Regions from separate parts of the Homo sapiens genome. Here region 2 is linked to region 1. The links are contacts of gene promoters, found by promoter capture Hi-C in blood cells and fetal thymus (Javierre and others, 2016). All regions are on one chromosome and are shown on one strand. The core of a region is centred on a gene start or on the middle of the fragment in contact, and the rest is flanking DNA. Distances in the headings are between cores, read along the strand shown. Region 1 holds the start of RUSC2 (RUN and SH3 domain containing 2). Region 2 holds the start of SPATA31F3 (SPATA31 subfamily F member 3).

The links. Contacts are between HindIII fragments. The CHiCAGO score rates a contact against its expected background, and 5 or more counts as called.
Region 2: a contact is called between a fragment that was not itself captured here and the fragment with the promoter of RUSC2 in region 1, in 3 of 17 cell types (naive CD8 T cells, naive B cells and total B cells). The highest score is 8.0, in naive CD8 T cells.

What each region holds. Positions count from the first base shown.
Region 1 is chr9:35,485,491-35,493,168 of GRCh38, reverse strand. It overlaps RUSC2 (RUN and SH3 domain containing 2), which reads right to left and starts at 3,058. Exons shown (of 12, transcript NM_014806.5): 1 at 2,997-3,058. LOC105376026 (a long non-coding RNA gene) reads left to right here and starts at 1,542. Exons shown (of 2, transcript XR_929580.4): 1 at 1,542-1,738; 2 at 1,913-2,050. RefSeq lists a silencer at 3,090-3,389. The HindIII fragment of the contact is 5,552 bases long and covers 1-3,848 here.
Region 2 is chr9:34,889,430-34,897,107 of GRCh38, reverse strand. It overlaps SPATA31F3 (SPATA31 subfamily F member 3), which reads left to right and starts at 1,344. Exons shown (of 5, transcript NM_001309427.2): 1 at 1,344-1,529; 2 at 2,024-2,069; 3 at 2,607-2,667; 4 at 3,956-4,062; 5 at 7,476-7,678. The coding sequence starts at 1,386. It also overlaps a transcript of PHF24 not described here. The HindIII fragment of the contact is 3,320 bases long and covers 1,504-4,823 here.

The sequences.
Region 1 (7,678 bases), core at 1,809-4,308:
CAGACACCAGGGTCTTCTTGAGGGTAGAAGGAGGGAGAGGAGCAGAAAAGATAACTATTGGGTACCAGGTTTAATACCTGGGTGATGAAATAATCTGTACAACAAACCCCTGTGAAATGAGTTTATCTATATAACAAACCCTCATATGTACCCCTGAACCTAAAATAAAAGTTAAAAAAAAACCCAAAAAACAAAAAAAGGCATTATGCTAACCGAAATAAACCAGTCACAAAGAGACAAATAGTGCATGATTCCACTTATATGAGGTACCCCCAGTAGTCAAATTCAAAGATAGAAAGTAGAATGGTGGTTGCCTGGGGCGGAGTAGGGAGAAATGGGGAGTTAGCATCTTACTGGTACAGAGTTTCAGTCTGGGAAGATGAAAAAAAGTTCTGGAGATTGTTATCAGTAATGGTTGTACAATAATGTGAATATATTTAATGCCACTTAAGAATTATTACAATGGTAAATTCTATGTTATATATATATATATTACCACCATAAAGAGTAAATATGGTACAGCACAGGTTCTGCTGAGTTATTTTGTTGTTGTTAGGATTCCCTTCTACCCCATCACCTAGCTCTATCAGAGCAATGTTGACATCTGGCTACTCAAAATGATGCTCTCGTTTCGTATGACGGACTCATTTGACAAAAATTATATTAAATGCCAATGTCTGAATGGGTGTTTTTTTTTTTTCCTGGGTAACTTCAACACTGATCAATCAAGACCATTTCTAGATAGCCTGCCCTTACCCTAACATGAAGTGAACCATCTCTTCAGTCAAGTGACTTTTAGCAGGGTGCATAGTCATTGTGTATGAGTAACAGGAAGAAAAGGGTGAGTTATTATCCTAAATTTGCAGATAAGCCCAGAGAGAAAAATAGAACACATAAGCCCTCCCATGAACTTGCCAGATTTAGCAAGTAAAAATACAGGACTCCCTGTTGTTTATTTGAAATTCAAATTTAACTGGGCACTCTGCGTTTTATCTGGCAACACTGAAGTATTGGAGGTGAGGAGAAAAATAACCCAGGGTGTTCTGGGGTAACTGAGGTCTTAACAGGAAGCCTAGACAGGAAAAAGTAGAAAAGGCCATTAAAAAGATACTGTTAAAAAAAAATTGTATTGCTTAATCCATCCAGATCAGGAGCCCCTCCCCACACTGGGTTTCTATGATCCAAGGCTTTATTTTGAGACAGAGCATTGCTCTGTCACCCAGGCTGGAGTGCAGTGGCATGATCTCAGCTCACTGCAACATCTGCCTCCCAGGTTCAAGGGGTTCTCCTGCCTCAGCCTCCTGAGTTGCTGGGACTTCAGCCTCCTGAGTTGCTGGGACTACATGTGCACACCACCATGCCCGGTAATTTTTGTATTTTTAGTAGAGATGGGGTTTCACCATGTTGGCCAGGCTGATCTTGAACTTCTGACCTCTAGTGATCCGCCCACCTGGGCCTCCCAAAGTGCCGGGATTACAGGCTGAGCCACTGTGCCTGGCCTGATCCAAGACTTTATAAAGACATGTAAGAGGGTGGGAGACAGAAAGCGGAAAAGGATACATCAAAACTAGCAATGGATGAATGAGAACATGTCCAGCCTCCAGTTAAGGCAACTGTGGCTTCAAAAAGGAATCTTAAATACCAGCACAGAAATCAGAGGGATCCTAACCTGGCTCAAAACAGAAGAGAAACAGTGGCTGGCCATACAGCAGGACGGGCATAACTAACAGAATACCAGGTATACTGTTTGGATCTGCTCTTCCTTCCATTAAGCCATCCACCACTGCTTAATATCTAAGGAGCCGGCTAAGAAAATCCAGTCACTACTTTTATTTGCTAATACTTTGAGCCCCAGTTACAATAATGCCACTACTAATTAGGTAACTACTTTCTACCTTATCAACTCCTACAGCTTTCCAGCCATTGTTTCATCCCTCAGCGATACCACCTGCTTCCGCGTGGAACCCAAACCCCCAGGAAACTAAATCTGCTCAGGTCACCCACCTAGGAATAAATAAAAACAGGTTTCAGGCCCTTTGTCCTTTGTAAATTCCGCCTTTTTTTTTTTTTTAAGGCCTGTGTTCTTTATCACGGACACTGTTCACATAGTGGTAATCCTTGCCTGACTCAGATCTACTTGTTCCTGCGTTTCATTCCTCCGCTGCTCAATTACTTGTTCAAAACGCAAAGGACAACTGGTAGTGAAGACCCTCCACCAGCAACACTACCATGTGCCAGGCACCGTGCTGGGGACCGGGGATACAAAGATGAGTAGTGTACCGTCCTTGCCCCCAGGACAGTTCCCCGTGTCCGCAGGGCCGGCCTGGAGGGCCACAGCCAACTGTGGGCAACAGGATCACCGTGCCCTTCGCGGCAAGTGAGTGCAGTAGTAGGGGACGGTTACTGCCAAGCCAAAGGTTTTCTCCAGGTAAAACTGGATGACAGAGAGACAGAGACTGAAGCAACGCCGGCGCCGGGCGGATAATAAAGGGAGGCAGGGGCTAAAAGGGTGGAGGGAGCAGAGGACCCGGCCGGGAACTGGCAGTAGGGAGGCCCCCGCTGCAGTCGCCGGCCTGGGTGCCGGGCGGCCACGCTTCCCCAAAGCCGTCACAGGGACTTGGGGTACCAAGGTGACTACTGGGCGCGAGTCGTTTTGTGGGGGGAGGGTGTCCCCAAGGGGGCAGTTTGAGGAGACGGTTGGGGATGCATCTGGGGTGGCGCCCAAAGGGACGGTGGGTGCTGGGTGTTTGAAGGTCCGGTGGACGCAGAGCTGAAGGGTCAGGAGAAGGCCAAGGGTCAGAAGGGCTGGGGACGAGGTCTGCCCAGGGGGTCGGGGCGGACGCAGAGGGCGGGTGCAGCCGAGGGGGAAGGGCTGAAGGGAAGGGCAGGCGCTGAAGGCACATAGGTGGGAAGACAGGCCCTCCCCTAAGGGAGACCTTGGAACGCGGGGCAGTGGGTCTGTGGGACCCTGCCCGCCTCCGGAGAGGCGTTCCTACCTCGTTTCTCGCCTCAGCCTCGTCCTTCCGCGCCGGCGGCGGCGGCGGCGGCGGCGTGTCTCGCCCTCCAGGGGTCGCGTTGCAGGCTAGAGGCGCCGGCGGCCCCTCCCTCCGGGCGGGTTGGAAAGGCCGGCCCCTGTCGGCGTGGCGCGATGGTCCGATCTGGGTTGCCCTCAGGCCGCCCCTCCGGGCGGCGCGTTGGTTCGGTCCGCCCGGCCTAAGGTGCTCGCCCCCTCCCCGGCTCCCGCAGCGATGGGCGCAGCCGAGTCACGCGCAGAGCTTTCCCGCTAAGGGAGCGGAGAGGCTTCCGCCGTGGCCCAATCTTCTGCGGCCCGCGCCCGCCCCCGCGGGGTGGTGCCTGGCGACGCGCGGCTCCCGGGTGCTGGAACCCAGGGAAACCTTCCGCGGGCCTCCAGGGCCGGTGGGTGTGAGTCCCAGCTTCGCCTGAGGCGGCGGTTCTCAACGCTGGCTTCCCAGTAGAACCTAGTGTGGAAACTAACCAAACAACAGAAGGAGGGCTGACCTCACACTGGACCGACTCAGAACCACTGGGGTGGAGTGGGGTGGGGTGAGGTGGGGTTGGCCTCCAGTGCATAGCCAGGGTTCGGAACCCCTGATGAAACGTAGAACCCATGCGCCCCCTGCCCTTCAGGGCCGGATGTGTGGGGGACATGGAAGATGCCTGTGTGTGACTCCTGCTGTTTACAGCCAGAGGGGGATGGGGCAGGCAGTCCTGCAAATGTTATGGGAAACCCACTGTATTAGTCCGTTCTGACACTGCTATGAAGAAATACTATGAAGGAAAGAGGTCTGACTCACAGTTCCGCATTGTTGGCGAGGCCTCAGGAAGCTTATAATCATGGCAAAAGGCAAAGAAGTAGCCATCCTTTTCGCAGGGTGGCAGGACAGAGTGAGTGCAGGCAAGGGAAATGCCAGACGCTTATAAAATCATCAGATCTTGTGGGACTCACTCACTGTCACGAGAAGGGCGCAGGGGAAACCAGCCCCATCATCCAATTACCTCCACCTGTTCCCGCCCTTGACACAGGGGGATTATGGGAATTACAATTCAAGATGAGATTTTGGGTGGGGACACAGCCAAACTGTTACAGGTAGTTAGGCATGAGCGGGGCAGGAGAGGGTTCTCCCCTGCTACCCACTAGGGATGTTGGGTGATGGTTCTGAGGCAGGAGAATAGGGACTGGAGGCAGGGAACCTAAGACTGGTTCATGCCAACTTCCTGGAACTAAATTGAAAGGAAAACCCTAACTTTCCACACCTAAGTAACAAACCCCCCACCCAACTTTTCTGCCCAGCAGATGGGAAATTGGCTATCTGCAACCAATTAGACTGACTGCAGCCGAGTCTAACTTTGCATAGAAGTATAACTTTGTAACTTCACCCTAGCCTCTGATTGGTTGCTTCTTGCAACCAATCAGATGTTTGCACAGGTGTGCGACCTTTGTAACTTCACTTCAGCCTCTGCTTGGCTGCTTTCTGCAACCAATCAGACTGATTGCAGGCTACGAATTCATTTACATGAGGTGAGCATGAAGTGGCGGGTAACTTCTAGGGGGTATTTGGACCCAAGAAGATTCTGTTTCCTGGCCCTTGAGCCGCTGCTCCGGCTGCTCCCACACTGTGGAGTGTGCTTTCGTTTTCAATACATCCCTGCTTTCCTTCTTTTGTTCCTTCATTCTTTCTTTGCTTTGCTGGGCGTTTTGTCCAATTCTTTGTTCAAAACGCCAAGAACCTGGACAACTTGCAGTCAGACCCTCTACCAGTGACAGTTCCATAATTACCTCATTGCTTCTTTAAAAAGGATAATTCGGCTGGGCCAGGGAGAGGCCATTTCCTGATGGTCCACACATGTTAACATCAAAATGCTAATTGAATGCAGGCCTCAGGGAGAAGCAACTTTCTGGGCATGCGTGTTAAGAGACAAAAATGGTGACGTATGATCTCCTGGGGGCACCCTCCACCGGAAAACGGGAAGGAAAGCACTGCGCATTCGGGAAGCCCACTCTAAGGGAAGAATCATGGGAAAGAGGCCAGCCTGTAAAAGTCCTAGGATCTTGGTTAGGCACTTGACCTTCTCTCTTTAACCTTCACGTGCCCGCTTGGGTTTCTTCCAAGCGCACCTTCCTTTCTTTCCTGTTCTAAGGCCTTTTTAAATAAACTTCCATTCCTACTCTGGAACTTGCCTTGGTCTCTTTTTCTGCTTTCTGCCCCACAGTCGAATTCTTTCTTCTGATGAAGCAAGGACTAAAGTTGCTACAGACCCATAAGGATAGGCTGCAGGTAACTTGGGGTAACTCAGACCTCTTCCACCACTAACAAAACCATATCACCCATTGAGAAGACTCTTAGGCTAGACGCGGTGGCTCACGCCTGTAATCCCAGCACTTTGGGAGGCTGAGGCGGGCGGATCACCTGAGGTCAGGAGTTTGAGACCACTAGCATGGTAAAACCCCGTCTCTACTCAAAATACAAAAATCAGCCGGGTGTGGTGGCGCATGCCTGTAATCCCAGCTACTCGGGAGGCTGAGGAAGGAGAATCACTTGAACCTGGGAGGCGGAGGTTGCAGTGAGCTGAGATTGCGCCATTGCACTCCAGCCTGGGCAACAGAGCAAGACTCTGTCTCAAAAAAAAAAATAGAAGACTCTGTTCTAGGTTCCATACTCACTGAAAGAGTTAGAGACTGGGGTCACAGTCAAGGAAGCAGATAAATGTCAGGATATGTAGCTTGTCTTCAGGCTTCACAGAAGTGGTGTGAGCTGAATTTTGAAGAATGAGTGGGAGGTAAAGAGAGAATTGGCATGTGCAAAAGAACTGAGGGGCAAAATGACCAATGTGATTGAGAAGTGTGGGAGGCAACGGAGACAGCTGAGGAGAGCTGGTCAGGGTTTGGTGATGAAACGCCTATGACTACTAAGGAGTTGGGAGAGATACTGAAGGGCTTTATTGCAGAGGCAGGAATGACAAGATCAAATATGAATGTTAGAAATAAAGTTCTAAGGGCTTAAATAAGGGTGACATGGAGAGAGCTAGCATTGCCAGTGGGGAACCAATGAGGAATTGCATGTTTGCACAGTGTGATCCCCCAGTTAAATAGTCTGGGTTGGGGAATTAAGCCAAACCAGGCCAATTAGAATTACTTCTCTAAGAATTTGGAATTGGGAGACAAAGAGCTACATCTCTGCTCAGACTTAAATTGGACTTAAGGGTAATTTGGGAGCTATGCAGTAGTCATCTTCTACTTGCCCATTTGGCCTGAGCAGCATTGAAAACCAGTTTGCTGAGAAAGAAGATCAATCAGTTGCACACAGAGAAGCAAGTCTAGACACAAAAAGACTGCTCCCTAGGTTCTTGGGACCTTCCAGCAGCTGGTTCCACTTCTTTCTGAGGCCCAGCAGGATTCCTTCCCCAGGATCATGATGCATCCTTCTATCCATTCATAGGAATCTCATTTTTGGCTTCAGCGAGTGTGGGTTACTTCCTGTTGTTTGTGTTAAAGAATAACTTTCAAAAAGGTAAAATAATGAGCCTTATGCAAGTATTTTTATTTTTTATTTTTTGAGACAGGTTCTCTGTTACCCAGGCTGGAGTGCAGTGGTGCGATCATGGCTCACTGCAGCCTCGACTTCCGGGCTTCAGCGATCCTCCCACCTCAGCCTCCAGAGTAGCTGGGACTAAAGATATTTTTTGCATTTTTGGTAGAGACAGGGTTTTGCCATGTTACCCAGGCTGGTCTTGAACTCCTGAGCTCAAGCAATCCACCCGCCTCCACCTCTTAAAGTGCTGGGATTACAGACATGAGCCACTGAGCCTGGCAGAGCCTTATACAAATATACAATGAACATATTTCAAATTTTTTATTTAACTAATGAGGGAACCAGTAAGATACTAAAACCAGTTCAAATGAAGATTTGACTTAGAAATGTCTTTTCTCTAATGGACAAAATTTATTTGCATCACCCAGAACAGGAATCGTTTGCACTGTTATGGGCAGAAAATCTTTTGTATTATTTATTGTCAGTATTCTGAAGTTAACTTCTAACTCCAACGAGTTAGAAAATAGCTTACTTGTAAAATAGGAACCTAGTCAAAGGAAATCAAAGGCTCTCACCGCTAATATAATCAAATAATTCCCAAAGATTCTTAACAGCACCCAACATTCCATTAAAAAGACACCCATTTCAAAGTATTTCTTAAGTTTTCCAGACACTTGCAAATCAAAGAATATACGAAAACACAGAGACATAAGAAAGCATGATGCTGGCCGGGTGCGGTGTCTCACACCTGTAATCCCAGCACTTTGGGAGGCCAAGGCAGGCACATCACCTCAGATCAGGAGTTCAAGATCAGCCTGGCCAACATGGTGAAACCCCGTCTCTACTAAAAATACAAAAATTAGTTGGGCATGCTGGCAGGTGCCTGTAATCCCAGCTACTCAGGAGGTTGAGGCAGGAGAATCGCTTGAACCCGGGAGGTGGAGGTTGCAGTGAGCTCAGATTGCACCATTGCACTCCAGCCTGGGTAACAAGAGCGTAACTCCATCTCAAAAACAAACAAACAAAGAGGCTGGGCACGGTGGGTCATGCCTGTAATCCCAGAACTTTGGGAGGCAAAGGTGGGTGGATCACCTGAGGTCAGGAGTTCGAAACCAGCCTGACCAACA
Region 2 (7,678 bases), core at 1,914-4,413, 600 kb after region 1:
CTCGGCTCACTGCAACTTCTGCCTCCTGGGTTCAAGCGATTCTCCTGCTTCAGCCTCCTGAGTAGCTGGGATTACAGGTGCCCAGCACTACACTTGGCTAATTTTTTGTATTTTTAGTAGAGATGGGGTTTCACCATGTTGGCCAGGCTGGTCTCGAACTCCTGACTCAGGTGATCCGCCTGCCTCAGCTTCCCAAAGTGCTGGGATTACAGGTGTGAGCCGCCGCACTTGGCCCCTTTTCAGAGATTTTGAGCCTAAGACCAACCACTTTTATCAGGGCAAGAACTTCTCAAGGAAACTCAGAAATCCTAGGGTGTTGGGGACATGCCATAATATTGATAGGGGTCATGAAGTTAACATTAATGTGAGAATCAGTGGGCAAAGGAGTGGTAGATCCCGGGGTTAAATGAGGAAAAATCCTGCTCTGCCTAAAGTTATTCAAATTCAGATTTTCATAAAACACTCTTTTAGGCAAACATTCCAACCACGGTGGATTCAACCAAAGAGCCACAAGTTTGTGAACCTTAATCGAAAGTTTTGCCAATAACTCATCTCCATGAATAGGCTAGATGCTATAAAATCTGTAGAGGCAATTCTGGAAAAATCAAGCCTTGTACAGAGCTCCAGAAGTGAGCCTCATTCATTTGCCTCCATGAAAGGTAGTGCTTACAATCTCTGCTCACCCATCTCAGGCTGGACCACGCAGATTGGGAGAAGTCCTTCTTTAACTCTCAGAAAGTTATTTAAAAGAACATCAGCTTTGTCCTTTCCTTGACATGTCACACACTGCCCTCTTTCTGAACCTCTCAGTACTGACCATATATCATTGCTGGTGGCATTAAAAATCGGTTTCCAAGATTTAACAATATGATGCTTGCCCTATCCTCTATTTTTTGTTGTTGTTGTTATCTTCCCAGTACAGATGATGTAGTTCATGGAGTTCCTCTGATCTATCCACTGTCTCTCTTATAGGGCATGTAGTGTGCATAGAGACTCGGTGTCATATGCACACTAGGTGTCAGGAATAGGTGTCAGGCCATTGTAGTAAAGGGGAGAGCTAAGCCATAACAGTATAGAGAGTAGAGAGAACATGAAAAGGTACATGTTGCCCATGACCTTGGCATCTTTTGCCCCAGGCTCTGTAGCCCATACAGAGCACCAGACACCCTCATCTGAACATTGAATCACCATAGTAAGCCTCTTTAAAAACAAATAAAGGTCTGTGATGCTATCCCTGCCTTGTGGAACAGGAGGGCTTTGTGATGCAGTCTGGTGATTTGGATCCCTCTTCTGTGAGGCAGAAATGACGAGGTGTAAAATCTGGAGGTATTAGGTTCTAAGACAGTGAAAGACTAGGGAGAGGGATGGCTAGTGAGGTTTAGATCATGTTGAGCCCTACCTTTGTTTTGTGGGATGTTGGATATCCCTTATACACCTATGGATCCATCTGCATTATTGCATTAATTATTTGGCAAGTGAAAAAGAGCTGCCAAAAATTAAGCTTGGTACCTAACAGGAGCTGTTGCCGGGTAGGGAAACACTATGACCATGGCTAAATTGATGTGCCTCAAACAAGATTTTATCCCCGAGCTTTCTCTTGTTACTCTTAGCCCTTGCTTTTTAAAGGGGTCTCCTCACTGGACACCAGAAGAGCTCCCAATTTGGGTGATTATTCTGGTTGGCAGCTATTTAGGGCCATTTGATGGCTGAACTCCTTTGACTTCTGGACCCATCCATCCTTTAATCTGTTCCACTTTTCCTCCCGTCTCATCCTAAAGTCCCCACCGAACTTATGAAAGGAATGGGGGTGGGAGGCATGGAGTATGGAAGAGCGTGAAAGTGAGTCAGAAATAAGCAAATAAGAAAACTCTTGGGGTGAAAAAGAATACAGAAAGGAAAGATAGAAGAGTATATAAAATTGGAACACAGAAAAAGACCAGGAAATGTTTATGAGTTTTGTTTCATTTTAGATATGGGAAAAAATGGTGTAGCAGCTTTGCATTCTAATGTTTTTGTCTTTAAGTGTCACCGAAGAGTCCAACAAAAGTCTGGAGATAGAACATCAAGAGGTAAAGTCCCAGTCTCTCCTCTAATTCACTTCTGCTGTGAGTGAGGTTCCCACGGATCCTGACCCTCTATGACCCCTGCTGCTAACAGCAGGTGCTCTAACCACTGCAGACTCTAGTACCCCCCAGGGACAATTTCTCATGGAAGACTTCCTTGGGTGGAAAATCAGAGCCTAGGCACATTAAAAAATTCTCTATCTTATCCTCCTGAGAATAAAGAATGAGGAATTAGGGCAGAAGTCCTCAACTCTGTCATTTACTAGTTTTACAAACCTGTGGAAGTCTCTTCAACTCTCAGTCTTGTTCTCCATAAAATGGGCATGTGATGATCCTTCCTCACTCCCAGTGTGATGGTGAAGGACAAATGAGACAAGGTGCAGAACAACACATCGTAAACGGTTAAGTTATACACAGATGTGACTTAGTGTTCTGACTCTGGGGTTTTCAGTATCTTCTCATTAAAAGGCCTTCAGCTTCTTATAGGATGTCCCTGAATCCTCTCCAGTTCCACATAACACTCACTATCTTCTGTTTCTTCAGCTAGGAGAACTTCACAGGAAGAAGCCGAGAAGTTGTGGAAGCTGCTGTTTCTCATGAAAAGGTAATCTCTTCTTCTTTGCAGTCTCCCAGCTGCTAGTCTGGTCTGTGATCATTTCTCAGCTTGGCTTGGGGTAGAGATGAGAAGAGGGAAAATGGATGGGAGGGAGACATACACAGTGGAGGCTGGTTCACTAGTTGAGAGAGTTACCAGGGCAGGGGGGCTGGGCCAGACATCTCAGGAGGGAAGGGTCACCCAATTCTGCTTTGGGCTAGGGTCACAGTAGTTCTAGAATTCAGGCTTGTACTAGTGTATAATTCATAAAAGACTCTACACAGGGTTGCATTCAGCCACGAGACAAGCTATCCAGTCAAGAGGAATGGATTTTGCGTAAAGAAGTCATCCCTGTCTTATTCTCTTTATTCCCTCTCCTCTGAGTCTGACTGGATTCTGCTGACATTACCTCCTCTGGCTCTGTCATTAGGGAGACAGCCCTCAGATGGCAGCCTATCATCTTATCCTCTTCTTAAGATTTCTAGAGAACAGGATTGATTCCCAAAAGATATTGAGTATATCAGCAGGGATACCAAATAGCTCTCAGAATGCAGAGGTCCTACATGAACTTCAAGCCCAAATACCGGGCTTTGGGTTTCTTAGCCTCAAATGAGACTGATCCGGGTTCTAACTGGTGATGCCCCATCAGCTAACCGCCTGGCTCCGTTCTCCTAGTTCAGCTTTTCAACAAGGTCAACAGAGAACTGACCCCAGCTCCCAGCCTTCTCTGAGGGCCACGCCCTCCCATGGGTCGTCTGAAGCCTTGCCCAACAAGCTCTAGATCGTCAGCCCAGCCCACCTTGCCAAATGGCTTTTTCTTTTTCTTTTCTTTTTTCTTTTTTTTTTTTGAGACAGAGTTTCACTCTTGTTGCCCAGGCTGGAGTACAACGGCACAATCTCGGCTCACTGCAAGCTCCGTCTCCCAGGTTCAAGGGACTCTCCTACCTCTGCCTCCCAAGTAGCTGGGACTACAGGCATACGCCACCATGCCTGGCTAATTTTTGTATTTTTAGTAGAGACGGGGTTTCACCATGTTGGCCAGGCTGATCTCGAACTCCTGACCTCAGGTGATCCATCCACCTCAGCCTCCCAAAGTGCTAGGATTAGAGGCATGAGCCACTATGTCCAGCCTCCAAATAGCATTTTCTTAGGAAGAAAAACAGGGAGGTAGACAACAAGAGAGTGTAGGCTCCAGGATTTTCAGGACTGGGAAAGGACAATGCCAACCCCGGCCCACACTTTTCCGAGAAGGCAGATGTCACTCCATCATTAATGTTTGTCATGTTTCTCTTCCCAGCCAGGGCTGGCTTCCTCAGGAAGGAAGTGTGCGGCGAATCCTGTGTGCAGACCCCTGCTGCCAAATCTGCAATGTTATGGCTCTGGAGATTAAGCAATTGCTGGCAGGTGAGAACAACCAGATCTCCCTGACTTCACTGGGGCCATCACAGGGCTCCTCTTGCCTAGAGGCTTTGTCCACATCTAGTGTGTCTTTTAAGCATAGTCAGGATCTGGGCTCCCCGAAATCCAAAGAGCTTTCACTGGCATCTGTAACTCCAACACTGTCACAATTAATGGATCAGAAATCTTTAACCCAGTCAGCTGCCCGGTCAGCTGGTGCAGACAGCGTCCAAGATTCCTGGGCTGATCACTTTCAGCGAGGACAGAGATCTCAAGTCCCAGCTGTGTCCCAGGTCATGGGATCTCTGTCTTCAAACTTTGAGAAGCCTGGAATTCCTCTGAGCCAGCAGGAGAGGACGAAAAACAACTCCAAATTTGTCCTGGAGAACCAAGGTCAGCAGCCCTTGAATACTAGATTCCCTTTCTTTCCCTGAACCCAGAGCTCCCAAACCTACAACAACAGCCTATGACCCTACATTCCTTTCCAACTGCTATTGCAATGTCCAAAAAGTCCTGAGGAATCTTCAAGTACAAGTGGGATATTGTTGCACATATTCCCACAACTGAGGGCTCCCAAGATCTGTGGAGGAGTTCTGTACAGGGCAGCTTATACCACACCACTTCTAATTTTCCAAAGGATGGAAAACAGACAGACAAACAGCCATTTCTTTCACTCTGAATGCTATCTCTAAGGCTTCTGCTGAACAGATGAGCTTCCATCCCTTTGACTCTGGGTTTCATGGGAGGCTAGCTGGTTCACCTAAGCTTTCAGGGTTTTTGAAGGATCCACTATGGACTCAGAGCAGAAAAATTACTGTGAACAAATCCCAAACCCCATGGTTCTAGCTCTACCCTCTCCTCTCTTTCAGCTTCTAAGTGGCCTCTGTCCACTGCCTAGAGGATGCACTGAGGCCTCAATGTGCCACATCTGTAGCTACCTTACTGTGGTTTCTCTTTTCTGCACATTACTGTCTGCCTTTAGAGATCCCTGGTCTGACTTTAGAAATCTCCAAAACAGGGGAGGCTTTGGCCCTTTCTCTGCAATGATTTCTCCTTCACCTCTGTACTAATTAAAATCTCCCCTCCTTCCCCACCTTTTCCCCCACATTCTCCATCTGACCATTGACAAATCCAGATCAATGTCCTATATCTGACTCAGGCTAAGTGAAAGCCTTGGAGTGGCACCTGCTGTAGAGGCAGCTCCAGCTTCAGTGGAGTTTGCCAGCTGTTGTCCAGAGATCTCTGTAGATCCAGGAAATCATACAATGTAAGCCCTGAGACATGTTGCAGCCTTTCCCACTAGATCCAGGACACTCTTTGATTGGGGAAGTCCATTTCAGTCCTCAAGAGGGAGGAAGCATTCTCCTAGACCATGCCCAGAGGCTGCTAGGATTCCACCTCCAGGAGCAATTGAAACAGAGGGTTGATTTGTCATTGCTGGGACCTGATCCAAAAGATCCAGCAGTCTATCCAGTTCATCCTGTGACCTGATGACCAATAATCCCTGCCCTGGAGCAGTACAGCCCTGACCTATGTGGGTCTTCCCAGCATGCAGCACCAGAAGCTAGTGGGAATAGTGGCCTTCTCTGATCCACTGTGGCAGGAGGGCCAGTCCGCAATTGTTTCCTCAGGCCAAGGTAATGTTGCAGAGCCACATAGATTACAAATATGGGAAGATCTGCTAGGGCATTGTCCCTGCCCATATCTGCCATTGTTGGGACTACAAATCACTGGTTCTGCAGTATTCCAAAGGCCTGGGAAGCAACTTGGCGCCCCTGTCCTCTGAAAAGCAAACACCTGGACCTGGAAGTGACACATATCAGCCCCTACACAGATCAGGAAAGGACACTCTGAATACTGACAGGCCTTGATCAGCAGCAACAGGGCTTGCCAGATGCTGTTACTGATGATCCTGAGCTGCCCAGACCCTGTCCCAGGAAGCCACTGAGAAACTTGAGACAAGTTTTGGCCCTTCTGTCAGGGCTGCCTGCTCTCTATTATGTGGCTCTTTCCAGGGCTGTGGCCCAGGCAATCACTCACGAATCCACAATCACAGATTGAGCCCATCAGAGCCTCTGACTCAATCTCATCTGAACAGCAATGTGTAAGTCCTGGGCCATGCTTTCAAAACACCAATGAAGCTTGTGTAGATAACGTACAAGTGTTCTGCACTAAAACACAAGCTGATGGAGATGGTACCGCTAGAGAGGCAGACAGATCCTCACAGCCCCTAATCACTCAAGGCACCCATCTTGGCCAAACTAAATTTCTACCTGAAAAATAAATTCCTTGAGATACATTTGGGAAGTCCCATAAAAACAAGGGAATCCAGGGAACAAATTTTCACCATCCCAAAGAATATCTCCACACAGGGATCCTTTAGGAGTCTAAAGATTGCTAAACCAAGGGAAAACATTACTCCAGAAACTTCATATCCCACCAGGCATCCCATGGGCCCCAGATCCAGAAGGGGTTGGACTGAAAGAACAGCTTGCCGTTGAACTAAAGACAGTGCAGCAGAGCTACAAGTGATCTAGTTCCATAGCAGTACCCCATGCCCACTGGGATTCTGGGATCTCACACCCAGTGGAGACATGACAGAGGCCCAGGTACTTTGTGTTCAGCTGGAGGCTAGAGTGAACAACCCAGCCTGGAGGGCCCTAAGCCCCTTAGACCAGGTCTTTGCAAAAGTGAGGACAAGTCCCTACCCCAGCAGAGAAAACAGTTGACCCAGTGACATTTGATGACATTCAAAGCAGCTGGAAATCACAGAGAAGGGGGTGTCTGGACAGCACTGGAGCTCTCCCCAGCCAGAGAGAACACCCTTTCTGCCAAGGTTCAGGGGCGAGTAGGGGCACTTCTAAGCAGAACTCCAGAGCTCACAACTTGCCAAATATATCTCCAGGATCTTTCTTAGGTAAAACTTTAGTTTAGCTAAGATGGTTGCCTTGAGCAGAGACTAGCAAGGATCTGTCTGGATCTGCGGAGCCCCATTTCCATCCTCTCAGTACTGGCTATTGCTGTTTCACCAGCTTCTCCATAACCTTGAGTTCCAAGAGCATCCTCCAGGATTACTTGGGGCAAAAGGACCAGATAAGAATAATTTGCAAAGCTGTTAGAGTAAGCCGAATAACCTCATCCAAACAAGGATTTCTGAGAATGCCAAACCGGGAGTGCCCAGAGCTTAAAGGGCCAACTTACTGGGCCATTACTTGCTGGGCCAAAATTTTGCAAGTACAGTATTTGAAGGGGTAAATTTTTTTCAGATCCAAAGTTTTCAGGGTCAAATAGTTCAGGGCCATGTTTTACAGGGCAAAATTTGCAGGGTCAAAATTTGCAGGGCCACACTTTCTAGGGCTAAGAGTTGCAGGGTCTGGTAAGGGCAGTCCATACTCACAAGAGCATCATCCTTCCAGAAGCTCCAGAAGTTGGCTTGGATAACAAGATGAAGCTGTTTCTGCACTGGATTAACCCTGAAATGAAAGATCGAAGGCATGAGGAATCCATTCTCCTTTCTAAGGCTGAGACAGTGACCCAAGACAGGACAAAAAACATTGAGAAGAGTCCAACTGTCACCAAAGATCATGTGTGGGGAGCTACAACACAGAAGACAACAGAGGAC